Linked DNA regions of Homo sapiens: regions 1, 2, 3, 4, 5 and 6 are each linked to region 7. Evidence: promoter capture Hi-C in 16 types of primary human blood cells and fetal thymus (Javierre and others, 2016). All regions are on one chromosome and are shown on one strand. The core of a region is centred on a gene start or on the middle of the fragment in contact, and the rest is flanking DNA. Distances in the headings are between cores, read along the strand shown.

The links. Contacts are between HindIII fragments. The CHiCAGO score rates a contact against its expected background, and 5 or more counts as called.
Region 1: a contact is called between a fragment that was not itself captured here and the fragment with the promoter of H3C12 in region 7, in 2 of 17 cell types (total B cells and fetal thymus). The highest score is 7.1, in total B cells.
Region 2: the fragment with the promoter of HMGN4 here is called in contact with the fragment with the promoter of H3C12 in region 7 in 6 of 17 cell types (activated CD4 T cells, M0 macrophages, total CD4 T cells and 3 more); the score reaches 8.7 in activated CD4 T cells.
Region 3: a contact is called between a fragment that was not itself captured here and the fragment with the promoter of H3C12 in region 7, in 1 of 17 cell types (activated CD4 T cells). The highest score is 6.2, in activated CD4 T cells.
Region 4: a fragment that was not itself captured here is called in contact with the fragment with the promoter of H3C12 in region 7 in 2 of 17 cell types (fetal thymus and total CD8 T cells); the score reaches 5.8 in fetal thymus.
Region 5: a contact is called between the fragment with the promoter of HCG11 here and the fragment with the promoter of H3C12 in region 7, in 2 of 17 cell types (neutrophils and M0 macrophages). The highest score is 6.0, in neutrophils.
Region 6: a contact is called between the fragment with the promoter of BTN3A2 here and the fragment with the promoter of H3C12 in region 7, in 5 of 17 cell types (activated CD4 T cells, non-activated CD4 T cells, naive CD8 T cells and 2 more). The highest score is 9.4, in activated CD4 T cells.

What each region holds. Positions count from the first base shown.
Region 1 is chr6:26,324,886-26,329,218 of GRCh38, forward strand. TRS-AGA2-1 (tRNA-Ser (anticodon AGA) 2-1) reads left to right here and starts at 2,704; the gene lies at 2,704-2,785. TRR-ACG1-1 (tRNA-Arg (anticodon ACG) 1-1) reads left to right here and starts at 3,255; the gene lies at 3,255-3,327. LOC101928743 (a long non-coding RNA gene) reads right to left here. Exons shown (of 3, transcript XR_241992.5): 2 at 4,125-4,202; 3 at 1-278. The HindIII fragment of the contact is 3,995 bases long and covers 653-4,333 here.
Region 2 is chr6:26,536,688-26,540,559 of GRCh38, forward strand. It overlaps HMGN4 (high mobility group nucleosomal binding domain 4), which reads left to right and starts at 1,679. Exons shown (of 2, transcript NM_006353.3): 1 at 1,679-1,814. TRR-ACG1-2 (tRNA-Arg (anticodon ACG) 1-2) reads left to right here and starts at 811; the gene lies at 811-883. It overlaps TRV-CAC1-6 (tRNA-Val (anticodon CAC) 1-6), which reads left to right and starts at 1,367; the gene lies at 1,367-1,439. RefSeq lists enhancers at 1-629, 1,890-2,299 and silencers at 663-956, 1,350-1,399. The HindIII fragment of the contact is 7,010 bases long and covers 1-3,872 here.
Region 3 is chr6:26,298,795-26,302,728 of GRCh38, forward strand. It overlaps TRR-TCG4-1 (tRNA-Arg (anticodon TCG) 4-1), which reads left to right and starts at 883; the gene lies at 883-955. LOC124901287 (a long non-coding RNA gene) reads left to right here. Exons shown (of 2, transcript XR_007059520.1): 2 at 1-170. The HindIII fragment of the contact is 1,637 bases long and covers 547-2,183 here.
Region 4 is chr6:26,471,595-26,475,400 of GRCh38, forward strand. It overlaps LOC285819 (a long non-coding RNA gene), which reads right to left. Exons shown (of 4, transcript NR_038992.1): 4 at 350-599. It also overlaps a transcript of BTN2A1 not described here. Among named protein-coding and RNA genes, the nearest start is that of BTN2A1, 16 kb to the left of the region's middle. RefSeq lists an enhancer at 2,241-2,290. The HindIII fragment of the contact is 800 bases long and covers 1,779-2,578 here.
Region 5 is chr6:26,519,185-26,523,477 of GRCh38, forward strand. It overlaps HCG11 (HLA complex group 11), which reads left to right and starts at 2,522. Exons shown (of 1, transcript NR_026790.1): 1 at 2,522-4,293. TRL-CAG1-7 (tRNA-Leu (anticodon CAG) 1-7) reads left to right here and starts at 2,024; the gene lies at 2,024-2,106. LOC107986583 (a long non-coding RNA gene) reads right to left here. Exons shown (of 4, transcript XR_001744057.3): 1 at 2,325-4,293. It also overlaps the pseudogene RNU6-502P. RefSeq lists silencers at 1,628-2,227, 2,458-2,977. The HindIII fragment of the contact is 10,867 bases long and covers 1-3,677 here.
Region 6 is chr6:26,363,677-26,367,574 of GRCh38, forward strand. It overlaps BTN3A2 (butyrophilin subfamily 3 member A2), which reads left to right and starts at 1,522. Exons shown (of 11, transcript NM_007047.5): 1 at 1,522-1,676. RefSeq lists an enhancer at 1,480-1,529. The HindIII fragment of the contact is 4,055 bases long and covers 1-3,795 here.
Region 7 is chr6:27,887,893-27,892,155 of GRCh38, forward strand. It overlaps H3C12 (H3 clustered histone 12), which reads right to left and starts at 2,934. Exons shown (of 1, transcript NM_003535.3): 1 at 2,423-2,934. The coding sequence starts at 2,900. The coding sequence ends at 2,490. RefSeq lists enhancers at 1,236-1,880, 1,881-2,525, 2,167-2,466, 2,526-3,170, 2,687-2,906. The HindIII fragment of the contact is 2,915 bases long and covers 2,450-4,263 here.

The DNA of each region.
Region 1 (4,333 bases), core at 1,400-3,899, 1.6 Mb before region 7:
TTTTACAATAAAAAATTTAATTTTTCAAGAAGGCTTGACAGAGGCTGTGCTATTTTTAAAAAGGCCTTGAAGGATGAGCTCTGGGGCTCCAAGCAAACATGGCAGAGGTCAGGGCGAAGAAACCCGCACCATCTGAGATAGGGCTGGTCCTTTCACTTCTCAGGAGTTCCAGGCCCCCTTGACAGAGTGACCAGAAGAGGAGCTGAAAAGGTCGGACAGATGCAGAAGATGAAGGCCTCCCATGTCATCTGCGATCTTCTCGCTAGGCCACAGGGTACCTTAAAGGCATTAAAGGAGGTAAGGGACACAGTCAGAAACACATTCTGGGTTAGTGCTAACTTAGCTCTACTTACATAATCTGCCCTCAACTACATTTCCGGTGTTATCTCTCATCAATGCCCTTCCCAGTACCCCTCCAAAAAGCAATGTTTCAACTAGAGGGAACTTTCTTCAGTTTCTCCCATATTCCTTGAGGTTTAGGTTTGGAACACTACCCTACCCCGTTTTCTCACCCCACACCAATTTGTCTCATTTTAACACATCCTTCAGATCCAGATCTGAGCTTAAGTATAATTCATTCCAAAAATACTTAATTAAGCACCTATGGAGGACTCAGAGGTAAAGAAGGTAAAACTAGAACCTTTCTTCGTGAAGCTTGGAGTCTAAGTGACCCTCCAGGCAACCACCTAAAACCTTTGTGGTTGAGATCCAGAACTCTTTCTGTGGGCTACTTACTGTGTTAGGGCTGCACTTCTCACTTGCACTCAGTTGTTTTATTGTTAACTTCTGTAATCCTTTAGAAATCTCGCTCTCCATTGAATGAGCAGTACCTAGCAAAGTGCTTGGCTTTTGCTATTTCACATAAAAAGAATTTGAAAAAAATAGGCAATTCTCTGTCTCACTACCCATATACAAAGTGCTTATTTTTATTCTAAAAAAATAAAATTTTTGGAAGAATGAATAAATGAATATATTATTTAAGGGATCAGGAACTGGAGGCCAAAAGACTAAGAAGTTGTTGCAATAACTTAATGAGAAGTTTCTCATGAGTACTTCTAAGTACCTAAACTAAGTACCTCATTTTAAAAAGTGGTCTGAGTAGCTGGGCATGGTGGCACGCGCACCTGTAATCCCAGCTACTAGGGAGGCTGAGGCAAGAGAATTGCTTGAACCCGGGAGGCGGAGGTTGCAGTGAGCCAAGATCGTGCCACTGCACTCCAGCCTGGATGACAGAGCGAGGCTCCGTCAAAAAAAAACAAAAAAAAAAGGTGGTCTGAGGGCTGGGGAAGAAGAGCCAGATTTGAGAGCTAATTAGAAGGTTGAATTGAGGGCCTGCTGGGAAGGGAATCAGAGAGACATAAAAGGACAAGGGTAGTCTTCGGTCTTGGTAGCCAGTCTTCGGTTTTGGTATCTCATCAAAAATTTGGATTGTTGGAGGAAATTTAAGTTTGAGGAAAATGATGGAACATTCCTTTGGGGTTGCATTGCTTTTGAGATGCCCATGGACATGCAAGAAAAAAAAATAGGACAACTGTATATTCTGGAGCCCAGAGGAGAGAGATCTGGAGTAGAGACGATTTTCAATCCATCCGCACATGAGCAGTAGTTCATCAATCATTCCTTACCCTTCTTCTGTTCATAGAGTTGGGCCATTGATGAAATACAGAATCCCTGACTTGCTCACTAATACTCACACACACACACACGCATAGTATTGTGGTAATGGTAGTGCAGTTTTAGAACCTGGGGTTCTGCTCTTCCTTTGGAAGTGGTCTTTGAATATAATTTCAAACTATTCACAGAATATCAGATGCAGTTGTTCTTCCCCTTGTGAGAGAAGGCCCCATAAACGAAAGAGGATTTGACCAGCAAAAATATTTTTTACTTTCTAGTTTCTTTCAGAAATGTTCTTTCAGCTGGTTAAAATATTCTGAGTTTTATGAAAAGACAGAAGCCTATCTTCACTGAAGAACCTTTTGATGAATCTAGATTCTGGGGTTTTACAATGATAGTTACAATTGTACTGACATTTGTTGAGCCGTTAGTATATCGCAGGCACTGGACTTTGTCAGAAAATATAGGGGATCTCTGTGGAACATCAGTGTTATTTACTGAGGATAATTTTCTTTCTTTTTATTTTTTTAATCTATTTTTTATTTTTTTTTTACCCCCGAGACGGAGTCTTGCTCTGTCGCCCTGGCTGGAGTGCAATGGCGCGATCTCGGCTCACTGTAAACTCCGCCTCCTGGGTTCAAGCGATTCTCCTGCCTCAGTCTCCCGAGTAGCTGAGATTACAGGCGTGCACCACCACCTTGGCTAATTTTTTTGTATTTTTAGTACAGACGGGGTTTCGCCATGTTGGGCAGTTTCAAACTCCTGACCTCATGATCTACCCGCCTTGGCCTTCCAAAGTGCTGGGATTACAGGCGTGAGCCACCGCGCCCGGCCTGAGGATAATTTTCTTACTAGGCAAAAATATGAGAATTGTAAAAGTTGTTGAAACATATTCCTGATTTGCATTATAAAAAAGACCCAAAGAACATTCTTAGCGTATCATGTATGTGCCTGAATTTGAAGTTTGTTGATTGCTTCCAAGTTTTATTCTTAAGATACGAATTCAGCTATTATTAAATCCCTAATAAAAGGAGTACAATATGTGATGTATGGAAACATGTAAGACATTTAATAAGGTTTTTGGTATCTGTAGTCGTGGCCGAGTGGTTAAGGCGATGGACTAGAAATCCATTGGGGTCTCCCCGCGCAGGTTCGAATCCTGCCGACTACGGCAGTGGGTTTTTGCATCTTCAAGCAGGTTTCATCCGACCGATCGATATTTCACGTGTAAAAAGGCTTTCGATCTTTTACAAGTTAACATCAAAATGGATTTCTTGGGGATTCAGGGCAGGACAATTTCAATTTATGTCTCAGAGGTCCTCAAAATGGATTTCTCATTGCCCAAAGTAAACCTTATCTCTGATCTTTTACAAGTTACATCATAATGGATATTTCATTGTTCAGGAAGGAATCATTGTGCACAAGGATGGATTTCTCATTACCCACGAAGGAATCATACTTCATGAGTAAAACAAGTCAAAGGAACAAATAAAACTATATTTTGTTTTAATTGGAGGGTTTTGGGTTCAAAATCCTTATGATCAGAAAGAAATAAAATTTCATATATTCATGTATAGGAGGACGCGGTAATCCCAAAACGTTTTTTTCTATAGGTATAACGCCTGTCTTCGTTCGTCAGAGGGCCAGTGGCGCAATGGATAACGCGTCTGACTACGGATCAGAAGATTCCAGGTTCGACTCCTGGCTGGCTCGTTCGACTTTAGTGGAAACTTTGAGGTTTACATAAATGCCCCTTCCCTGGGCACTCATATACATTTTATGTATTTTATCATTTTAATTTTTAAAAGAATTACACAAGATGACAAAAATTTTTATAATATAGACTCCAGCTTCAGTTCACTATTGTTTTACATACATAAGAGTTTTTTTTTTTTAAATCACATCACTAAATTGATAAGTTTCAGAACTGACCAATTTTCACATTGCTTGATAAAACTTAATACAGGGGAATTTTTTTTTCTTTTTTTGAGATGTATCACTGTGTCGCCCAGGCTGCAGAGCAGTGGCGCGATCTCAGCTCACCGCAACCTCTGCTTCCTGAGTTCAAGCGATTCTCCTAGCCTCAGCCTCCAGAGTAGCTGGGATTACAGGCATGTGCCACGACACCCAGCTAATTATTTTTGTATTTTTAATAGAGAGGAGGTTTCGCCATGTTGGCCAGGCTGGTCTGGAACTCCTGATCTCAAGTGATCAGCCCGCCTCGCCCTCCCAAAGTGCTAGATTACAGGCGTGAGCCACCACGTCCGTTTGGGAAAACCTTGTGTCATTCTGTGAGAGTTACGATTGAGAATTCACAAACAGAAAATTTCTAGATAGCAAACAATTTTGGTTTCTTTTCTATCCTTTTCGCATACTCATAATTTCAAGAATCACTTGAAACAAAAATCAAGTCTCTTCTCTGCTCCCTGTCCTCTAGCAATTTTTAAAGTTATTGAAACATATTCCTGATTTGCATTATAGAAAACACCCAAAGAACATTCTCAGCTTACCACATATGCGCCTGAACTTGAAGTTTGTTGATTCCTTCTAAGTTTTGTTGGCAGGACGTGAACTCAGCTATTAAATTCCTGGTAAAGCGAGAGGTACAATATGTGACATATAATAACATGTACGACGTTTAAGAAAACTTTTGGCACCTATAGTCGTGGCTGAGTGGTTAAGCCTACTTTTTAAACATTTAAATAGCTTATTTTAAAAT
Region 2 (3,872 bases), core at 429-2,928, 1.4 Mb before region 7:
AAGCAGCATGCAGTGAGGAGGCCTAGCACAGTTTCGCTTAGTAAAATATTTGAAGAAAAAAAAAAAAAGACCCACAGAGAGACAAATGAAAACTCAGACCACGTCACCGTACAACGGCTTCCAGTTTCCTACAGAATACCAGCCAGAGTCCTTACAAGAGCCTGTAAAGCTGGCCAGAGTCCTTACAAGGGCCTATAAAGCTGGAGGTGGTCTCCCAGGATCTCCTATTCCTCTCCACTGAGCACCGGCCTCCTCAACATAACTCCCAAGCCTGCTTCCACCTCCAGGCCTTTTCCCTAGCGATTTTTCCCTGTTCCAGATCACTCATTTCCCCGATATCAGCATTTATCCCTCATTCATCACTTTCACTGCTGGCCTTTCCTATCCTCTTTCCCTGTTTTATTATTATTTTTCTCCAATCGCTTATCACTATTATTTTGTTTATTTAATGCTTTATTATCCGCTTCCGCCACTGCCATGTAATCTTGAGGGCAAGGGTCTCTCATGTTTTCTTCACCGTTATCTGCAGTGCCTTGAACACTAATACTGGTTGAATGAACGAACGCATTAATGGAGCGGTGATATTGGGGCAGAGAGGATGCAGGGCTTGCTTTTCACCGCCATTTTTCAGCCGGCAGAGACAGACCGAGAAAGGAATGAAGGCCACGGGGCGTGTGCAGAAGTAGCTACCAGAGAGTCCATGCGCTGCGAGCCTGGACCAGCGGGCAAACGCGGCTTACAGGCGTTCACCCAGATATTACGGGTACAACCTAGTTTCTTATGAAATACCTCGCCCCTAAGGTACGCGCAGGGCCAGTGGCGCAATGGATAACGCGTCTGACTACGGATCAGAAGATTCCAGGTTCGACTCCTGGCTGGCTCGGTGTAAGCAGGGTCGTTTTACAACTTTCTGACTCCGCAGGAGTAAGGAAATTCCTGCAAGATAAATTTGCCTGGAAGACTCAGAAGCAAGAGGGGCAGCTCCCGACAACATATGGGGTTATCATTTCTTTGCGGAGCATTCTGCCACTGACCACGTGGTAACGCCAACTACGCCAGAGAAACGCTCGCCCTACCCAAGTTGTGCCCAGCCTTGCCTGGCCATTTTGGCCGAAGAACGAAGGACCGTTCAGAGATTAAATTAAAGTCTCTATTGTGTTCTTCCCTATTCAGTCATTTGTAGAATAAATTCTATGGCTTCAGTTTGAACACTGGAGGGGCTGGGTCTGAGCTTTTCATTGGTTTTTCTGGTTTGAGAGGTCGGTACAGAGACGCACGCGCACATCAGCAAAACACGCACTTGGAACGAAGAAACACGGAACTAGGCAGGAAGAACTATTTACTCTGAAAAATAAGCCCTTAGTGGGTTTCCGTAGTGTAGTGGTTATCACGTTCGCCTCACACGCGAAAGGTCCCCGGTTCGAAACCGGGCGGAAACACGTTTTTTTTTCCTCATCTTACTACGAAATTCTTCCAGTGTGTATCTTTTAAAGACTTTTTCAGGCTGTCATAAATTTCCTGTCTTCTTGTCTTGCTAGATCGGGGCAGCAGTGCTTAGGGCGGGCCTCAGAGGCTCACACACGTATCGCCAGGGGGAGAACCAGCTCTCTCCGGCTTGGACTCGGGGCGGCTCCCCGCCTGCAGCCCCGGAAGCGCATCCTCACCTTCCCTCGCCTTCCTGTTCCTGGCGGAGCCGGGCTCCGCTCGTCTTCTCTGTCTTAGGGCTGGTGCTGGCCCTGCCCACGCCTAGGGCTCCGGCGCGTCACGGGCCTCAGCTGGGATTCCCGCGCCCCTCGGACGGCCACGAGACTCGGGTAAGTGCCTCACAGACTTTGTGCGCTACCCCGGAAAATGAGGGGCGTGGTGGGGGGGGTCCCGCCGCCCTCCGTATACTTAGGACCCTCCTGCCAGCTGGCCCCGGTCATGATTAGGGGCCTTGGGCCCCGTCAGCCCCGCCTGTCTTCCCGTCTCCAGAGTAATCGCAGCATCTCTCCTGAGCTCCGAGTGTGAATCCCTGGGAAAAGCTGAATCCAGAGGTGGGGTCACAGAGAGCCGCAGGCCCGACCGGGATGAGAAGTCCTAATCGGCGTTCTAGGGGCGTTCTAAAAGAAGGAAGGAAGGGGATTTGAAAGGATTGCTCCCGCAGGGCTGTGGCCTTAAAGAGGTGGTGACTGGCAGGTTGGACTGACCTGCCGTGGGCTCTCCCTTCCTCCCCAATTTACCTTCGAGAAACCCTCGTTGAGGAGACACCCAAGGGCTGAGTCCTCCTCCACTTTGACCTTTTGCTATTCCATCACAAAGAAAAAATGGATCCCAAAGTTAAGAAATGGACCAGCACTTGTTTAGAATCAGGACTGGTGCCTTGGTGTTTGGCCTCTTACCTCTGCCACATGGCTTGCTTACAAGTTAATCGGATTAATCAAACGCTTTTATGAGAAAGTTTTGTTGTGTCACCTGGCAGCCTCGGGTGTTCCCTAAGAGGGATTTCTTTCTTAGATGTATTACTACTTTTTCTAGGGATTAGCCAAGCCTAGCCTCTCAGATCATATTGCTCCAGGTTCCCTCAAATGACTAATAAGAATGTGATGTGTTTGTTTTTGTTTGTTTGTTTTTGAGACGGAGTCTCACTCTGTTGTCCAGGCTGGGGTGCAATGGTGCGATCTCGCTCACTGCAACCTCCACCTCGATTCTTGTGCCTCAGGCTCCCGAGCAGCTGGGACTACAGGTGTGTAACACTACACCCGGATAATTTTTGTATTTTTAGTTGGAGACGGAGTTTCACCATATTGGCCAGGCTGGTCTCAAACTCCTGACCTCAAGTGATCCGCCCGCCTCGGCCTCCCAAAGTGCTGAGATTACAGGCATGAGCCACCGCGCCCAACCGAATGTGATATTTTTATGACCATGAGAAAAGAAGGGCTGCATTCTTTGGTGGGTCCGCAAAATTAAAAAAAAAAAAAAAAAAAGAAAAGAAAAGAAAGAAAAGGACAATGTTAATGAGCTGTTTTCTTTTTATCATTTTCTTAAACAGGCTGCTTGGGTAGACGTTGACTTGAAAGGTCCATTCTTTTGTCATCTTGCTGGTTCCCTTAACAAGACAACACCTTGGCTAGCAAGATAATATCTTGGTTAGCAAGACAATAAACTTGGGCATGTGCTCAACAGCAACCTGTCTAATACATTTTCATTTAAAATCCCCTCTGTACTACTCAGAAATATAAGCAAGTTATTATGGTGCCCAGAAAGGGGGCAAAGGTTCCAGGGTCCTAGGAGATGACAAGGATTTATCCTCTTCATCTTTCTCCGATCCCAGTTAGCAGGAATACTTTAGCCTGGAAGGTGAGTGTGCCCCTAACCAACCTTTACAGATGGGTGACTGTTTGGGAGCTTATGGCTCACTCCTTCTCTTTAAAGCAGATGCATTCTGGCAAGCTGCAGCAGCAAACCTACCCTTTTAGACACCCTGCGTTTTCTCATCTTTCCTTTCTACCCCTGCATCTCCCAGTCTCTCTCACTTAACCTCCGTGGAAACTCATGCTGCGTCTCTAATACTTTGGAAGATGAAGAACAAACGCCCTGGAGAGTGACTGACACCATGTGACCTCTTGCTTCTGTAGCACACTGCATCTTGCCTGTGAATCTTTTTTTTTTTTTCTTTTTTTTTTGAGACCGGGTCTTGCTCTGTCACCCAGGCTGGAGTGCAGTGGCACAATCTTGGCTCACTGCAACCTCCGCCTCCCAGGCTCAAGTGATTCTCCTGCCTCAGCTTCCCAAGTAGTTGGGACTATAGGCATATGCCACCACACCCAGCTAATTTTTGTATTTTTAGTAGAAATGGGTTTCACCATGTTGGCCAGGCTGGTCTTGAACTC
Region 3 (3,934 bases), core at 115-2,614, 1.6 Mb before region 7:
AAGCCACACAAAATAGAACTTTATATGCCATGATGGGGCCAAGAGCGCTACGGAACATTATAAATTCTATAAATATCTTCTCCATAGTATGATGCTAATGCATTACATTTTCGTGTTGATTCATCTATTAAATGTAAAAATTGTTAATAATAAAAATTTTTGCATTTCTATTTCGTGTTCCTTCACTTCTTAATATATGGGAACCTCAAAAACTGGTAATGGCTCTAGTCCGCTCGGCACTCCTGAGAAACCCCAAGGAAAGTATTTTCTTTCCTTTCTAAACAGAACCATACCACGAAAAGTGCTCTGATATCACATTATCACAATCAGAGAAAGTACCAGAACAGCATGGAGAGGGGGTAATTGTCTCCGGGGTCTGCAGATATCCATGCAGGATGGCGAGAAAGACCACGGTACAGATGTTGCCTTGTGGTAAAACTGCCTTCCAGGTACAGTTTTCTTAACAACTATCTGGGCAGACCCTGCAAGAACCTAGTCTGTAAATGGTGAATGTGGATGAGCATCATAGGGAAGAAACCTTGAGTAAGCTTATTTTAACATATCCTTCGATGCAGACAATATGCAGAATTTTAGCATCTTTTAGATGCCATAAACTCCGCTTCTTCTGCCTTGGGAGTCAGAACAAACGACTTTTCTCTCCAAGGAGTAGTTATATTACCACAAGACTAAAATAATTGTCGATACCAACCGTTTATAAATCCCGATTCTGTGGCCCCAAATATCCCACCTAATCTAAAGTTTTCATTTTCTCATTGGCGAAAACACGGGCGCTGTAGATGCCAACACGGGGGGTTGGAGGGGGCGGGTGGGGGGAAGCTCGTTTTATTTTCTAAGTATTGCAGCAACAACGGAACTGCGGGGGACCACGTGGCCTAATGGATAAGGCGTCTGACTTCGGATCAGAAGATTGAGGGTTCGAATCCCTTCGTGGTTAAGTGGGGTTCGTTTTCGGGCATGAAAATTTTATTACCCATTTCATTCCAAGAAAAAAATAAATCATACACTCTCTGGGTTTTCTGAATCCTTTTTTTCTTCCATCTCCTCTCCTTTAAAGGGAAGAAGGAGACATTCTCAAAGGCCTTAGGAGAACAAGTGACAGAGTGAAGAAAGACTGGAAAGTCAAAACTGAAATACAGCCATCTACTACTTTGGAGCTGTCAGGTTCTCCCCAAGTTTGGATTTTAAGCACCTGCGTTTCGGTTTTGTAGGCTTAGATTCAATTCAAGGATTCAATTCCTTGAAAAAAAGAAATTCAGATCTATAAGCCAAGCTGTCTCAAACTGTAGCGTCTCAGACTAATGCCAGGCCCCAGTGGCTAGCACAGTAGGAAACCTGTTGCTTCTTCTGATTTAGCACTAGGCCAAAAACTCTTCACATTTCTTTTTTAGTCTACATCCGCGTGTACCAAGGAGTTTTGGCAGCTGCTGAAGCCTATGTTACTAGTTCTTACTCTCCATTTTAACTTTTTTGTTGTGGGTGTGTTGCCATCAAAAGGATGAGAATACCTAATATTGAATTTTATATTGCAAAGCAAAAATATAAAGGTAATTAAAATAGTCCAACTGGTTACAGTGTGTGTGTGCAAACAGGAAAAGACAGGGAACACAGCTGTGCAAAATATATAAAAAACATTTTGTATTCCTAAATAACATTTTGTGTGCCTGAATTTAATAATAATTTAGGATTAAGGAAAAGTAATTTCCAATTGCTGACATCATGATGAAACATAAGACATTTGACTCCATCCAGATGAGATCATTGATTCAAATCACATGGAGTCCATAAGTGTGTTTCTAGATCAAAGCAAAGAATATTAAAATTAGTAATAATTACCTCTCCCTGTCCCCAGCTTCTTCCATAGCTCTGTTTGATTCTGGTTTCCTCTAGTCATCTGTAGATTCCAAGTTGTATAAAAAATGTGGGGATTGAGCATTGGTTTCCAGACTTTGAAATTTATTGGATTAGAAAGTGTCAATGTCCTAATGTCATGCAAAACCATGTTCTGCCTTGTTAATGGCAAAACCCACCATTTGCACTGAGCATCCTTTTATAAACTAGAAAAAGGATATAACCTCAAAAGAAGAGTAACCTTTTAAAATGAATACAGTGATACTTGAGAATTACATAGCCCACCTTTTTTCTTGATTCTAAGAACAGGAAAAAGCTTCCTCCTCTCTCTCTGATCAGTATGTAACCCTGTGTACCAGAGGATGAACAAGACTTTTTCCAGGGGCCCCACAGCCTCCCTCAAGCATTTAATGAAAGTGGAAATTCTGATGCAAGAATATAAAAATTTGCCTGTCATAACCCTTTCTCTCTTCTTTTTCTTTCTTTCTCTACTGCACTGATAGCAAAGAATGCCAAAAGGAGGAGAGAGACTTTCCAGACTGGGAAGTGCCAAAAGGGAGAAAACTGAAAAAGATAGGGAAATCTGTGGACATCCTGAGTCTTAAATGGTCACCGTGATTTAGGAACTTGTCCCAAATCCACCAAATAAAAATATATGCACCCTTTGATGAATGTGTAAGCCTTTCTGCTTTGAGAGTGGGATTCAGAAAATAAATAAATAAATAACATGAAAAACATCTTTTGGAGCTGGATTAAAAAAAAGCAACTGGAAGAAAATAAATCAAGAAGAAAGATTTCTAGATGTGTATCACAAACACTGGGAGTTGGGTCCAGTTGCACAGGGGATTAAGAGATTCATGAATTTAATAGAGTAGCCCCCCTTATTTACAGGAGTTATGTTCCAAGACCCCAGTGGATGCCTGAAACCTTGGATAGTGCTGAACTCTATATACACCATGTTTTTTCCTATACATACACACATATGATAAAGTTTAATTTATAAATTAGGCATTTTAAGAGATTAACAACAATAACTAATAAAACAATTATAACAATCTACATACAGTAATAAAAGTTATATGAATGTGATCTCTCTGTCTCTCAAAATACTTTATTGTACATTACTCACCTATTTTCAGACCTCAGTTGACTATGGGTAACTGAAACCACACAAAGTGAAACCTCAGATAGAAAGGGGACTACTGTAAATGTTTATGGAGCACCTACCCTGTGCCTGCTTCTCTCCCCAGCCACTGTGCTAGGTACTGGGATTCTAGAATATAGGATCTAGCAATCTAGGAACACAGTAACAAAAGTACACAAAAACCCATGTCCTCAAGAGGTTTGGAGTTGAAGGAAGAGAGGAGGAGACAACACAGAAAACACAAAATGAATAAGTAGATTATATAAGTAAATTATACTTTATATTAGAAGAGATATATTCTGAAGGAGTTAAAAACTATGCCCCTCTGGCATAGTGACTATTTTGAGTTAAAGGCACTTGAAAAATAGCAGATGCAAGAATATCACTCTGACTCTCATTCTGTTTCTTAAAAGCAGAATATTAAATTCCTCTGTGAAATAAGTCCTCCCTAAACTAGAATGACAGTATCATTCATTCTAGTTTCTAAGGTAACTGAGGCTGAGGGAAATCTGTGTAAACAAATCTTGTTAAATGAGAATTTATCCTCTCAGCCACTTCTCTACCCAAGTAACTACCCAAGCCCAAGCCCCTTTGCCTTGTTACATTTACATAGTTTACCACTTTCTGTCTAATTCAGCATGTAAGTGTTCCACTCTCACTGCACTGTAGTATCTTCATTTTCCAATGAAGCCTCTTGTGCCACAGAAAACTATTAAATGAATTTGTATGGTCTTTTTGTATTAATCTGCCTTACATCAATTTAATTCTCAGGTTCAGCTGGAGAAATTGTAGTAAGAATAGAGGTAAAATTTTGCCTCCACTACAGTTCAAAAACATAAAGATTATATTATATATTTTTAAGACATAGGGTCTCACTTTGTCACCCAGGCTGGAATGCAGTGGTGTAATCATGGCTCACTG
Region 4 (3,806 bases), core at 929-3,428, 1.4 Mb before region 7:
CCACTGCACTCTAGCCTGAGTGGCAGAGTGAGACTCTCAAAAAAGAAAAGAGAGAGAAGGAAGGAAGGAAAGGAAGGAAGGAAGGAAGGAAGGAAAAGTAACTGGAAAGATGAAGTTGTTAATTTCTGAGATGGGGAAACGGAGAGACAAGGAGCAAGACGGGAGTGGTACAGAACCAAAGGTTCAGTTGTGGATACATTAAGGTTGAGGAGTCTATATTAGAGATGCACATGGAGATGCAGAGTAGTCCATTGAATAACCAAGAGTCCAGGTGAGACCTCAAGGCTGGAGATAGAGATTCCATACTCAACTTTCCTATATGTTTGAAGAGTTTCATGATACACTGTAGTGGGTAGAGGGAAGAATTGTATTTTGTTATTAATAACAGTCCTGAATATCATTGGCTTTGACAAAATGAGGACTTCTTTTCATGTCAATAAATATGGATGGTGGCCATCAAGGGCTGATCTGAGAGCTTGAAATGTCATACATGCCCCAGCTTAGTTCTGTCTTTATTTTCTTCTGTCTTAGCATGTGGCTTGCATCTTCAATGTTGCCTCATGGTCACAAAAGGGCTGCCCAGCTCCAAAGTCCATATTCTAGATAAGAGGAAGTAGAAAGTAAGGGGAGTGTAAGGGTCTACCAGCTGTTTTAGCCTCCCCTTAAATAATCTGTCTGATAAACTTCCACCCTCAAGCAATTGGCTCAAACTTAGTCCCTTGGCTTCCCCTGTCTACAAATGAGATGGACACCTTGCAATAAGAAAATGGGATTTTATTACTGAGAAAAGTAGATCTGTTATTGAACAAGCAGCCAGCCAACTCTACCACAGAGCCTAAATTCAAACTGTTGTAGTATCATTTTCTACCAGCCAAGGTTTCAGCTAAGTCCTAGGAGTTTTAATTACTTTAAGGGTCTGTTTTATAACATAAACAAATGATAGGCCTTTATATTTTATTTGTGACCCAACTAAAGTTGCAAGTGCTAGTGATACAGGATTTTTATTTGTCACTTTGCAAGCAGGGGACCTCTGGCCAGCAACACCCCACCCAAGCCTCGCTTGGCTAAACTGGCATGCCCCAGCTCACCTGTGTTATAGCTTATACCCACGTTCAGCAGTTCCTGAGCTCTTGTACCATGCCCAAGAAGAATGAGGATACACTAGACGTTGAAGGGTGAGGAGGGCTGAGAAGAATTTTATCAAGCGACTGAACAGCTCTCAGCAGAGAGGGGATGCTGGCACCCCTACCTGAAGGCAGGAAAGCTCCCCCTGTGTGGCTGGGTCCAGGCCTGTTTTATGGACTCAGAATGGGAAGTGTGTGCTGAATGGTTTGTGAGTATGCAAAAAAGGTTAAAGTGAAGACACCACTCAAAGATGGCCACAACAGTGTAAAAAAACAATTAGGAAAGTGTGGGTATATGGAAAGTAGTTGAAGGGTGGGGACCAATCAGAGGAAAGTGCACCAAACAGGAAGACAAGTTCTCAACAAGTTCTCAATTTGGGCTGAGGATTTACCTTGTAGTTTGGCTTTCAGGCTTTAAACTGTCTTCAGCTTGGAGGTGGGGTATCACTGGGGACCCATTGCTACCTGCCTAGGCATCTGACTGCCTCCTGTCTGCTATCACTAGGTCCCAAGGTTTGTAGCAAGGACCCCTTACAAAGACATCCCCCACAGTCTACCCAAAGGTTAACCTTAGAACATATTTCATTGTCAGAGTGAGAAACAAATACACATGAAAATACAGTATGGCACAAATAAGGAGCAAGAGGTGAAGAAAGCTTCAGTCACACCCAAAATAATTTTGTGAAAAATATAAAATATGCAGTTATAGACAGCACTAACTCTGGATACCAGAAAATTCTATAATTCGGTAATGGATCTGAGACCTGAATTTTGGAGGTACTAAAATAGATGCAATAGATCTAGTTTTCATTATGTTCATACTTTCATTTGGCTCTGTGGTAAAAGATGATAATATCCAAAACAAAAGATGATAATATCCTCCATGTAACAATTACATGCAAGGGGATGTCTGCAAACTGCCACAGTATCATTTTAATTAATACCTATCTTCTCTTCTTAAAATCTTTTCATTTTTCCACTCAGTTCTCCTGATATTTCTGTTATGATATAAAAGACAGCTGAATGTGAAGAAACACTGATTGTACACGTAACACACACATTAATGATTCAAATATGTAAACACAGAGAGCTGCAAACACTTTGAGAGGTAGGGCTGAAACTTTTCGTCAATGTGTACAATTCAATATCGTTTCAGTTTTCATTCTAACCGTCCCCAGTGGCTTCTGCCCAGCAACTGATGAGAAATGGTACCTCTGAGCCAATCAAAACACGAATTCCTACAAAGAGGATTCTCTTAGTGTTTCTCGGACCGAGTGTACAGCACATGCTTTCTTTTCCTTTATTCTGGATCAGAGAATCTTAACTAAAGCAGAAATAATTGTGTTAAATTAAACTAAATTTGGTATGAGATATGTATACATTTAGCCTGAGGGATGGCTCTTGAGCCCTTAAATAATGAACTGCAACCTAACTTAGTATGTAAACTAACTGAAAGCTTAAGGCATGGGAGTATACTTTTGTAACAAATAGCTGAGTCTCAGCCAATCCCAGTAGCCGAACTTCAGTCGGCGGCAGTCAACCCTGCAGCCAAGTGATCAGACTATGTTCAAATAAGGCCAACTCTGAGCTGTAACCAATTAAGCTGTTTCTGTGTGTCACTTCCCTTGTGGAATGGAGCTCACTGAACCTCTCTGATGGCTGCCCGATCGTTCTGATGGTTTGCAAATTGTTCTTTGTTCAAATTAAACCCTGCTAAATTTAATTTGTCTAAAGTTTTTATTAACAACAGAAAACTATTGATTACCTTTTTTTGTGGGCTATGATTTTCAGATAGGAATATTAAGGAGTAAGTGGGGAAAATTGCTTAGAGCCAGGGCTACAAGGCCTGGAAGAAAAGGGACTGAAAAGCTGAGAGGGGAACTGGCACAGAGAAAGGGGTGAGGATGGAGAGGGTAGAATGCAAAGAGTAAGGACCTGAAGAGGCTGAGATTTGGCTGAAGAGGGACAACCTGAATAGAGAAACCTTCCAACTGCATGTTCTTAGGAACTAATTACAGTCAGAAAGGAGCAAAGACTCCTTTTTTTTTTTTTTGTCAGAGTCTCACTGTTGCCCAGGCTGGAGTGCAGTGACACAATCTCGGCTCACTGCAGCATCCACCTTCCCAGCCAAGCAATTCTCTGGCCTCAGCCTCCGGAGTAGCTGGGAATACAGGCATACGCCACCACACCTGGCAAATTTTTTGTATTTTTAATAGAGACGGGGTTTCACCATGTTGGCCAGGCTGGCCGGCCAGGCTGGTACTGAACTCCTGACCTCAAGTGATCCACCCACCTTGGCCTCCCAAAGTGCTGTGATTACAGGCATGAGCCACTGCCCCCAGCCAGGAGACGAAAAGACTCCTAAAATATCTCCTGGTTATGTTTAGGAACATATTCCAAAAGGTTCTAAAAAGAGATGTGCCTTAAAGATTCATATGTATATTGTAAATTTTCAACTCCATATTTTCTAGATGTCCCCAACATCCCCACAACAGCCCGTCAACACCCTGCCCAGGTGACCAAGTACACCAGTGCAACAGGGCTGGTTCCTGCCTGCTTGCCCTTGCTTAACTGTGACCTAGTGACCTCCTCCCATCTTTTGATCTTTATTCCTCTAGTTCACTTCCTTTGTCACTATCTCTCCACCCACACCTACTTGCCTTAATCACCTTAACAGCAAAG
Region 5 (4,293 bases), core at 1,272-3,771, 1.4 Mb before region 7:
TCTACTAAAAATACAAAAATTAGCCGGGCATGGTGGCGGGCGCCTGTAATCCCAGCTCCTAGGGAGGCTGAGGCAGGAGAATCGCTTAAACCCGGGAGGAGGAGGTTGCAGTGAGCCGAGATCGCGCCATTGCACTCCAGCCTGGACAACGAGAGCGAGACTTCGTCTCAAAAAGGAATGCTTCACAAATTTGCCTGTCATCCTTGTGCAAAGGCCATGCTAATCTTCTCTGCATTGCTCCAATTTTAGTGTAAGTGCTTGCCGAAGGGAGCACAGCTCTGTCCATTTTATTTCATGTTTCTTGGGCTCACTGCCCCATTATAGTGTAAGCCCTTCGATGGTGGAGCTTATTCTGTCTGTTTGTTTACTGTTGGATCACCAGCACCTAGAATGCTGCCTGGCACATAGTAGGTACCCAATAAATATTTCCTATATGTTGGATGAATTGCCTCTCTCCTCATCTCCAAAGTTGGTATCCACCACTACCCTGTGAAAAGAGCAGAGGTGACTGAATTTTAGAGGCCTTGCAGAGGACTTATTAAACACTTACTGTGGGACTCTATCCTCATAACTTTTTAATTTACTTATTTGTATTTTTAAAATCAACAAATAAAGATATATATATTTATGATGTACAAAATGATGTTTTGTTCTATGTGTACATTGTGGGAAGGCTAAATCAAGCTAATTAACATATCCATTACATCACATACTTATCTTTTTCTTTTTGTGGCAAGAACATTTAAAATCCACTCTCTTAGCAATTTTCAAGTATTCAATAACGTTGTTATTAACTATAGTCACCATGTTGGACATAGCAAAACTTCTGAATCGGTAGGCCTGAGAAGAACAGAATTTGCCTCTAATTGATTCCCTGGAGATGGGGATTTAATGCTTAATTTAAGGGATTAAACATTGTATTCTATCAATTGAACTCACGATGAAAGTATTATAGGTGTCTAAGAAAGCTGTTTCTAATGTCCACAGAAGCAAAATGACTTATCTAAGATTCTCCAGGTAGTGACCAGTTCTAGTTCTGTCTGAAATTCGTACTCAGGTCCCCTGACTTCCAGTCAGTGATATTCCGACCATGGCATCCTGACTGCTAACCCTTGCTAACAAAATTTGAAGTAGGTCACCTCTGACCTTTGTTTATGTTTAGAAAAGTTGTTGTGCTCAAGGCCTTCTATCAAGTACCCGCTGCGCCAGGTTTAGTAAAATACATAAGCTACTCCCCATTTTTGTTGTTGCTGTTTTTGCTTTTGCTTTTTAAAGTTTTTATTACAGTATAACATCCACACCGAAAAGTGCGCAAATCCTCCATAAACTCCGACAGAGAGGCAAGACAAGCCAGGCTTCCCACGCTCCTGTCCCCTCCACCGGCCCTGCCAAGGGTAACCACGTGCTGGGAGATTTGCAGCACAACGCAAAGGAGAAGGATTAGCGAGCACCTTGTTCCAGCAAAAACTGGAGCAAGCCTAAAACTTCCTGGGAATTAAGTGTAAATTTAAGCCAGGTATTCTAGTAATGTTGAGTTCAACAGGATTGCCATTATTTTAACTAGAATTCAGTTGAGAGCAGAGCGCCATCGCCGTCTTCCGCCTTAGTCACTCGGCCCTGGGCTGGCTCACGCCCGCCCCGCCCCCTCCCCGCCCCTCCCACGCCCGCCCCGCCCCTCCCACGCCCCCGCCCCCGTCCCGCTCCCCCTACCCCGACCCGCCCTCCCTCGCCCGCCGCCCCACCCGCCGCAGCCCTCCCCGCGCAGCCTGGGAGTGACTCGGCGTTCACTCGGGAGACGCCGCTCTGTGGCCCGGACAACCGGTCCTATGCAGCGCCGTCCGAGGCAGTTCGCGGAGAGGCGGCTTACCTTTTAACCCAGGAATGCCCATATCTTGAGAAAAAGAACAACAAGGGGGTGGGCGGGGGTGGGGACATGGGGTAGGGGGGCGGCTGGTGGATGGGGAACTAATAGCGTTTAGACAAGAGACAGAAGTGAGTCCTGAGCACAATGTAGCATAAGCGCGTCAGGATGGCCGAGCGGTCTAAGGCGCTGCGTTCAGGTCGCAGTCTCCCCTGGAGGCGTGGGTTCGAATCCCACTCCTGACAGTTCGTACTTTTAGTATTTAGACACAAATCGAGTTTAAGTTTACGCTACGTTTTCCTACCTGCTCTTTGTGACATGGTCTTCTCTCTTTTTAAAAAATAAATTTTCCGAGTTCCGGAATAAAAGCACTCTTTGTTTTTATTAGCCACTCCAAGGACAGCAAAAAGTACTCTGTACTCCGAAAATAATTTCAGAACCTACCGGTGTTTTGAAATCTCACCTCCTTTTTCCGTTTCTCCTCTGTCTCTAGTTGTCTTTCCCTCTCCCTCCTTCACAGGCAGAGTTGAATAAATGTTACTCTTCAGTTCATGGCTCATTACATTACTGCAGGGCTCCTCTTTATTTAGTTATAGTTATCTTTTTAATTCCATTTCTTCAGTCTCATTCCCCACCTCATCCTTACTCCCCGTAAGAAATCACTGCAAGAGTTCCGGTCTGGCAGAGAGCGCGGAGAGACGCAGAGCGCGGGCCGCTCCTCCAGGGCGCTCCAGGCCCTCCGGCCCCGGGTCGGCGGGTGAGCTAGGGGGCGCCCCGGGACAGGCCGCGCCCTCTGCCCTGCAGATACCGGAGGCCTCTGCTGTGGCTGCCCACTGGCTGGGCCCAGGCCTTGAAGCGGTGGCGAACGTCTCTTCCCTACCCTACCTCGGTGACTGATGGCGGCGGCGGCCTCTCCCAGTCCGGACCCTGCCGGCCGTCGGGTCTCCCGGCCCAAGCCTGCCGGGCCTGGACGAAACCCCCGCCGAGCAGCCTGGACGCAGCGCCTTTGGGTGGCGGCGGGAGTAGCGTGCCGGGAAGCATGGCGGCCGCTCGAACGCCGCGCGGCGGAGGGCGTTAGGGCATGGAGGGCCCGGGAAGGCGGCCTAGGGACGCAGGCAGGCTCGGCCGCCTCTTCAGGCCACGGAGCCGCCAGATCTGGGTCCCGGGTGACCACTCTGTCGCCATTGGGCGAGACCTACCTAGTCCTAACGACAACGGACAAAGGCCTTAACGGGCCTGGGAGGTGAGCGAAGTCCCGAACGACGACGGGTGGAACGGTTAGCGGCGATCGGGCGGTTGGTCTCCGTACTACCAGACCTTGCTGTCGGAAGAGACAAATGGTAGAATGACAGGCCACGTTTGGCCCGTTGGAAATGCCCTCCATCCTCTGGGAAGATTCACAGGCCGTTTACGGAAGGCCTGTGTATATAATATGAAAAAGCTGCTCTCAACTCCACCCCAACCTTTTAATAGAAAACATTTGTCACATCTAGCCCTTCTAGATGGAAAGAGGTTGCCGACGTATGATAGAGTTAGAAAGTCACACATCTTGTAAATTCTCATTTGTTTAAAAGAAATCATAGAAAATACATGTCTTCCGGAGTTGACTTTTGGAAACTGAGTTGTTAGACGGCCTCTAGAAGCGATACGTTCACGTTTGTTCAGTGGGTTAGATGACATGGAGCTCGAAGACCTGAGAAGGAAAAAAAGAAGGTTCTATGCTAGACTGGTCATATTTAGAAGACATTTTCATATTCTATCCATTGTTTTGTGTGCATTCGCTTCCTCACTACTATGTATGTAGTTGACAATGCTAAGCTTTTTTGAAATGTCTATTCTTTTTAGATATTCTGAAGTGTCTGATATATGTTAAAATTAGAGGTAGTAAAACCACATTTTGTAAATATCTTTTTGTTACAATTCATAGAAATGTTGTTTTTTGGGGGGAATGGCCAAATCACCTGTTGAGTAATACTCATTGTGTTTGTGCAGTAGTTCAGGGGAGGAGAGAGGAGGGGGAGGTGCAGAGAGCTCTATGCCATCCTGCTTACAGCGAGGCAAGATGAATCACTATGTCTGTGCATTTTGTTTTATCTATGTATATAATGTACATAAAGGACAAACGAGTCCTAATTTACAACATCTAGTCTTTCTGGATGTTAAAGAGGTTGCCAGTGTATAACAAAACTAGAGTTAGTAAACTAATATATTTTGTACATTTTGTTTTACAAGTCCTAGGAAAGACTGTCTTCTGAAAATTTGAGCATTCTTGCCCACTGGGTTGATGGAGATGGGAAGGGTTCTAGGCCAGAATGTTCACATTTGGAAGACTCTTTCAAATTATAACTGTTGTTACATGTTTGCAGTTTATTCGAGACTGCTGTGTACATACATAGTGGACAAATTAACTCCTTACTTGAAACATTTAGACT
Region 6 (3,898 bases), core at 272-2,771, 1.5 Mb before region 7:
TTTCACCTTTGCTATATGTTTTAGAAGTTTTATAATAAACTGTTGGGGAGGGGGAAGGGGGAGGGAAAAATTGTGTTTTTCTGTTGATAACAGAGACCAGAAGTACCACTGGCTTAAATAAAACAAGGATTTGTTTTCCTTTCATGAAAAACAAACTTATTTGGAAATTTACCCTGAGTACTAATATATAATAAAATATTTTAAAAGAAAAAATTTTTTAAATAAATTTAGATGGTGACAGTCCAGGGCTGATCTGGCACCTCAGATATGTCATTCATGCCCCAGCCTGCTTCTGACTTCATTCTCTGCTGTCCCAGTGTGTGGCTTCCAACCTCAAGGCTGCCTCATGGTCCCAGGGTGGGCTACTGCACCTCCGGGTCCAAAGTCCATGTTCTAGGCAAGAGGAAGAAGGAAGAAGGGAGAGTGTACCCTCACACTCCCAGCTATTTTGGCCTCCCTTTGAAGGATTTCTGGGAGAAGTACAAGCCCACAACTTTCACCTACAAACCGCTGGCTCCAACTTAGTCCCTTGGCCTGCCCTATCTTCAAGGGGGAAGAGCAGGATGCAGTACCCCAGAAAATTAGGCCTTGTCACTAAGAAGAAGGGGGCATGCACGCTGCAGAAGCAACCAGCCATCTCAAGCAGATACCACACAGCCTAAATTCAAACTGTTGCAATATAATCAAATCCCATCAGCTCCAGTCACATATTAGCTCTAGGAGATTTCTGGCTTGCAGCCCAAAAAAGTGTGTTTTGAGGTCGTAAGCCACAGGGAGAACAAGATTGTCCCATAAACTCCTTACAGAGATGGTGTACAGGAAACGAGCCTTACAGAGACCACAGCCTATGGAGTGTCTAGCTTCAGAGAATATGTACTCCACTGGCAGCGTGAGAAACAAATACCCAAGAAAATACAATATAGCACAAACCAGGAGCTGAGGGTGAATGAAGATGCTCAGAAAGATCTGCAGTAAGAATTTCCTGGGAAAGGTAAAACAATGTCAAGCAGCACTGCCTCTGGAAATCAGAAAAATTATATTATTTGATACCATATCCTAAGCCTAAATGCCAGAAGTTCTTAAAGAGGTGCAGTTTGTCTCATTTTCTTTCCATTCATACCTTTATTAGGCTCTGTAAAAAAGATCCTCCTCTTCTACGTACCTATCTACATGCAAGCAAACTGCCACAGAAGCATCTTAATTAGTGCACATCTTCCTCTCTTTGCACATTAAATTTTTTTACTTTCCTACTCCATTCTGCTAATATTTCTATTACCATGTAAAAGACACGAGACAGGTGAATATAAAGAAATACTTATATACATCCACGCACAAGAATGATTCAAATAGATAAACACAGAAACACAAACACTAAGGGAGGTAGGGCTGGAGTTTTTCCTCAACGTGTACAATTCAATGTACTTTCAGTTTTCATTTCAACGTTCCTCAGTGGTTTCTGCCCAGCAACTGATGAGAAACATCACCTCTGAGCCAATCAAAAAACTAATTCTTCCAAAGAGCGACTCTTACTGTTTCTCATGGTGAGAAGACAATATTTGCTTTCTCTTTTTCCTTTCTTCCGGATGAGAGGCTAAGCCATAATAGAAAGAATGGAGAATTATTGATTGACCGTCTTTATTCTGTGGGCTCTGATTCTCCAATGGGAATACCAAGGGGTAAGTGCAGGAAATTGATTAGAGCCTGGGCTACAACGCATGGGAGGAGCGGGGCTGAATCGCTGAGAGTGGTGAGTGGGCATGCAGGGAGAGTACTCTCCCAGAGAAAGGGGTGCAGTGCCTGTGTGTGTGTGTGTGTGTGTGTGTGTGTGTGTGTGTGTGTGTACATGTGTACATGTGCACACTCGCACATGCACATATGGGCACGTGGGAAGACGGGAGAAGTACTGCAAAGTATAAGGAACTGCAGAGGTTGGGATTTAGTGGAAGGAAAGGGAGACAACATGAATGAAGAAATATTCCAACTGCATGTTCTTAACGTATTGTGGTCAGAAAAGGGCAAACAAACAAACAAACAAAAAACCCTTAAAATCTGTTCTGGCCAACTCAAGGCATCTATTCTGAGAAATTCTGAAGAAGAAGAAGAAAAAAGAGATGTGCCTCATAGATTTATATGTAAATGTGTTTATTACAGAAGTATTTATAATATAGTAAAATCTGAACCAACATACATATTCAACAGGTGGGGAATAGACAAACAATGCATGGTTCAGTCATAAAACATGTTCCATGTAACCATTAGGAATCATAATTTTAATTAAGTGAAATTCTTTATAATTTTAATAACACTGGATCCTTATATTAAACCATTTTTGGTATCTTTTAGGGATAGTACTTGGTTTTCTTTCCATTCATCATTTCCCCAAAACCTAAAGCATGATTTCCCATGGTTACAAGCTACTACATTGTATGAATATATAATTATTGGGAGTCTCTGTGAGCCTACTCTGACTCAGAAAGCCGCTCCTAAAGAAGAAAAAAGAACAAACAAACAAATAAAAAACCCGAATTATTTTTAAAACTCTTTATTTTGGATTTTTCAGTTTCTACATTTTGTTACTGTAGATTTTACTAGATTGAACAGCCTTATCCATAAATATTTGCATCAATCTCTAAATTTTTTTCTTCAACACTAACTTTTATAGTTGGAATTTTGGGGGCAAATAATACAACATTTTAAAGGCACTTGCCATGTGTACATGGCCAAATGCTTCCAGAAACATTTCCACTTCCATTAGCAAAGTATATAACTACAGAGTATTTAAGGTTTTATTCCTTTATATTTTTTTCTTTGGCAAAATTGTCTATAGTAGAAAGAATGAATAATAAATAACCTAAAAAATAAAAGTTCTCCCTCTGAGGACAGCAGAGAAATTTTTAGCTTAGCTTAATAATACCTCCTTCTCCTTAGGAGAATAAAGAGCAGTTTCGAGGAGCAGAAGATGTGGTGAAATATAATGTTTAGTCTGATGGTGGATGCAAGATCCAGGCAGGGGTGGAGCATGACCAGCTGCACAGACCTCTGTTCCCTTGCTTCCTCTACATCTCTCCCCACCTCCATCTGCAGACCTTGTTCTCAGAGGCCATTCCCAGACCCACAGCAGCTGGTATGATGGCTGCAGGCCTCATGCTCCTTTGTTTTGGGAGAAACTGTTGAGGAGTTAGTATTTACTGAGCAGCTAATATGTTCCAGTCACTATTATTCCTCATAATAATTAGTTATTAACTAATACATGAAAATTTTAAACTTAAAGCATTCCAATAATTTTAAAAGTAAAGGAAGCAAAAGGCCAAAGCGTCCTTTCACTCACTTAACCTCCAATTTTCAGTTTAGCATCCATCATTTTAGACTTTTTCAGGCATTTACATATATAGTTATGCAGAAATGTATAGCTTTGCTTTTGTTTTTCAATTGAATCATTAGTATAGTTCTGCAAGGTGCTTTTTAATCACTTAGTATATCTCCATTATCCAGGCTAGTGACATTAAATCACTCTTTTTAACTGCTGCATTGAATTTCCTCCTAGGGATGAGCCATCATTCCTCTAACCAGTCTCTTGTGAGTGGCTGGTTCAGTTGGTAACCACTTTTATACTTTAAAAATAGTGCTGCAGTGTCATTCCCACAGAGGCTTCTCTCTGCACCCATGCGAGTACTTCGCTGAAGTAACCATCAGGAAGTGGAATTGCTGGGCCAATTGTGAACATTCTAAGTCTCATACTCGATATTTTTGAGTAACTAAAGTTGAAATGGTTTTGTCCCATGACTGAGATCATCAAGCTTGTGACTTGTAGAGCCTTTACCTATTGTCTACCCTCTTTGTGTTCCTAACTCTACCATAGTGGGTCCAGCCCATTGTGGGTGCTCAGTAAATATTTGTT
Region 7 (4,263 bases), core at 1,684-4,183:
AATTTGAGTCTCTGGAATTAACCAACAGTAGAAAGATAAACAGGAAAAAAAAAAAAGGCATACAAATTTATTACCTGCATATGCACAGGAGCCTCACAAAATACAGTACTCCAAGAAATGATACCGGTGGGCTAGGGGAGGTACCCAAATGCCATTAGGATGTTGATCCCAGCCAGTGTCCAGGCCTTTGCCACTGCTGCCAGAAAGAATCCAAGGACAAGTCAGAAAAAGTACAGAGGTTTATTGCAAAGTGAAAAATACATGCTCAAGGAAGGGAAGTGCAGGCTTACTCAAGAGAGTCAGTCTTGCCCAGGAGTGATTGGGGCTTCTAACTTTATGGGTTTCCTTAACCAAGGGGTGGAATATCCATGAAGATTTCTGGAAAAGGGTGACAATTTCTCAGAACTGTGGTGCCATCCATTTTTCCATGAAATATGGGTGTTCTCGGAACTGTCATGGTGTTGGTGGATGTCTGATTTGTATGTTAATAAGTGTATAATAAGGTCCCAGGTGAAAGCTAGGTCAAATCCAGTGCCATGTTGGGTCAAGTAGGACTTAGCCAGCTTGGCAAACATTTCGGTTTTCAGGGTCTCTTTGGCTCCTAGTTTGTGCAGCTATTTCAACAGTTTCCTTTTTGCTAGTCATGTGAAACTACTGCATGGAATCTTCTATTCTCTTGTGACCACCCTATATTATTTCTCTCTCAGAAGGGCCAAATAATTGACGTTTTTATGCCATTCTGAGACTACAGAAAGAAAAAAGGTCTTGAGACTTCTGGGGGTTTGGAGGAGGTGGTGACACATGTTGTAGGAGGGTGAAGGAGGAAGGGCAAAGGCACCAGGGGAGGAAAGGCAAAGGTTTTCTTGTTATGTAGATAAAGTCTCTCAGGTAATCGCAGAATAGCTGACAGCCTGTGACAAAGTAGTTTTCTCTCCTTTGAGTCAGTCTTAGATTCCTCTTTAGGCAGGAAAGGGAGCCTCAGAGAAAGCCAGTACTTGCATCCACTGTTTACTAATGTAGATTTCCTTGATAGGTATACAATTCTTTTACAAAAAAGAGCTTTTCAGAGCTATTCCTATTTCTGCAGTTTCTCTGAATAGCCATCTTGAAATATGACAAAGTATACTTCGGGGTGGCATATTTTAGTCTCCCACAAGAGCCACTCCAAACTAAGATTCAGAGATAAAATCAGGTTCAATAAATATTTTTTGTGTACCTAATGTGTTTTCTGGGGCACTGTCCAAGGCCCTAGAATATATTACTGCATTTAACCTTTAAAGCAGTCTCTTGAGGAAAGTAAAGTGAAGGAAATAAAAATATTTTACCCCAAAAGATATTTCTTTGCCCTATTTTGAAATGGCTGCCTCAGGGCCCGGAGACCGATGAGGCCCTGCAAATCAGTCTTTTGTGGGGGAAATTTCCATTTGTTGCCAGGCTTTCCCTTTCTAGTCCTTTCCTGGATCTAGGAGAGATTAACTGAGAGTCTGATCCTTTTTTATTTTTATTTTTTAAGAGACTGTCTTGCTCTGTCACCCAGGCTGGAGTGCAATTGTGCAATCATAGTTCACTGCATCCTTGAACTCGTGGGCTCAGGCAATCTTCCTGCCTCAGCCTTCTGAGCAGCTAGAACTACAGTTGTGCGCTGCAACACCCACCTTTCTTTTTATTTGTTTTTCGTAGAGACAGGATTTTGCTGTTACCCAGGCTGATCTCAAACTCCTGGGCTCAGGGAATCCTCCTTCCACTGCCTCCCAAAGTGGAGGGCATGAGCCACCACGCCCACCCTGACAAGAGACATTTACCATCTATTTTTTCTGAGGACTACTAGCTATGTGTTTTCATCTACATAACAAGACCCGCCCCCCTTGCTAGCCAAGTCTCTTCCTTTCTCCCTCCTATAATCTGTTTTCCCAGGTTCCAAGCTTGCACTCTTTCTATAATCTCAAGGTGATATATAAACTTCTGTATCTCATTGGTGGGTGGGTCCTCATTTTGAAGTCTCCCGTGTCTATGTGCTAAATCAACCGGCCTCATGTCCGTGATTTTCAGCAAGCTTCCAGGGGACCCAAGGGCAGTGCCCGTTTCAGTTAAAAATGGCATCTCATTTAACCTGTAATCTAATTGTTAGTTATGGGGTTCTGGAGATGCTATCCCCAAAGGACAGCATGTGCAGGAAGGACTTTGGCTTTCCCCTTGAAGCGGATTGACCTTGGATATAGATTTGCTGACTTTCCTCGGAGAAAGTGAGACCCTTGTGAGATGGGTCACAGAGGACAAGTGAAAAGGACCGTCTTAGAAGACAAAGGACACTGCAAGGAATCAGAATGAACAACCCTTGACGACTTTCCGCCAGTTTATCCCTGCTTTAAAGTTGATTTAAGACAGTCGACCAATGGTGTGACAGCTATCCTCAGTGAGAATGTAAGTGGCTCTGAAAAGAGCCTTTGGAAGCTTGGAAGCAATTAAGAAACCCAAGATAGAGCAGGGGATTATGCTCGCTCGCCACGGATACGACGCGCAAGCTGGATGTCCTTAGGCATAATAGTGACACGCTTGGCGTGAATAGCACAGAGGTTGGTGTCTTCAAAGAGACCCACCAGATAGGCCTCGCACGCCTCTTGCAGCGCCATCACCGCCGAGCTCTGGAAACGAAGGTCGGTTTTGAAATCCTGCGCGATTTCTCGCACCAGGCGCTGAAATGGCAGTTTGCGGATGAGCAGCTCAGTCGACTTCTGATAACGGCGGATCTCACGCAAGGCCACGGTGCCTGGCCTGTAGCGGTGGGGCTTCTTCACACCGCCAGTCGCTGGAGCGCTTTTGCGCGCTGCCTTGGTGGCCAGCTGCTTCCGCGGTGCCTTGCCGCCGGTAGACTTGCGAGCTGTCTGCTTCGTCCGGGCCATAGTTGAGAAAGCTATGCTCTGAAAGCAAGCAGCTGAATGAGCAGTGGCTTCTACCAGAATTTATAACGATGATCTGATCCTGATTGGTCAGAACTGTTGTAGGAAAAACCTGGTTGGTTGTTAATACTATCTTCATTTGGTTCCTGCCACTTTTTTTTTTTTTTTTTTTTTTTTACCTGACGGCTTCTAATTCTGTCGCCTAGGCTGGAGTGTGGTGGCGCGATCTCAGCTCACTGCAACCTCCGCCTCCCGGGTTCAAGCGATTCTGCCTCAGCCTCCGGAGTAGCTGGGACTACAGGCACTTGCCACGACGCCCGGCTAATTTTTTTTTAGCAGAGAAGGGGTTTCACCATGTTGGCCAGGCTGGTCTCAAACTCCTGATCTCAAGTTATCCGCCTGCCTCGGACTTCCAAAGTGCTTAGATTACAGGCGTGAGCCACTGCGCTCGTCCTCCGCGCCACTTTTATTTATTGTTTTCAACCAATCATGTTAAGATTCCCCCAATGAAAAGATAATCTGACCTAGAATTTGTGTAGGTCAGTCGTAGTCTTAAACTCATTTCCAATGGGTCATTTTTCCTATTTCGGATCGTGTAAAAATACATACAGTAGAACAACGTATTTGCTAGTATTTCCAAAAAGTAGTTCCGTTTTGTAACTGCTTAATTAAATCTTTTAATGACTGTACCAAGACCCAGAACAAAAACAATTTAAACTTAGGCTGGCACATTCTCTAAAACACCAAAACTTTAGTTTTGTCCAGTGTGGTGTGGGGAAGGAGTTTGATAGGTGCTTGACTAAATGATACCAATAAATGGTATCTGACCTCTTCATTAACTGAGTTTAATGCAATCCAATGGCTGATTGGATTAATTATGTAAATTATTGCTTAATTTCATTAGCATGCGCGGAATTACAGGTTTGGGTCAGTGATTAGATTTTTGCCAGTGAATCTGGGTAGTTCTGACAACAGCATTTTATTAGGATGGAGATTTTAGTTGATCAAAGAACTACCAGGTTCTGGTATTGATAAAGACCCATAAAGACAACAAAAAGGTTAGTTTAACATTTATTATATTCACAGGAGCAAATGATCACCAGAAATACTTTTGTTTGGGTTTTGTTTTTCTTTTTTTGAGACGGGGTCTCGCTTTGTCACCCAGGCTGGAGTGCAGTGGCGAGGTCATGGCTCACTGAAATCTCAAATTCCTGGGACTCAAGTGTTCCTTCTGCTGTCAGTCCGCCAAATACAGGCGAGGGCCTCGCGCCTGGTATTTTTTTTCTTTCTTTTTTTTAGATGGAGTCTCGCTCTGTCGCCCAGGCTGGAGTGCAGTGGCGTGATCTCGGCTCACTGCAACCTCTGC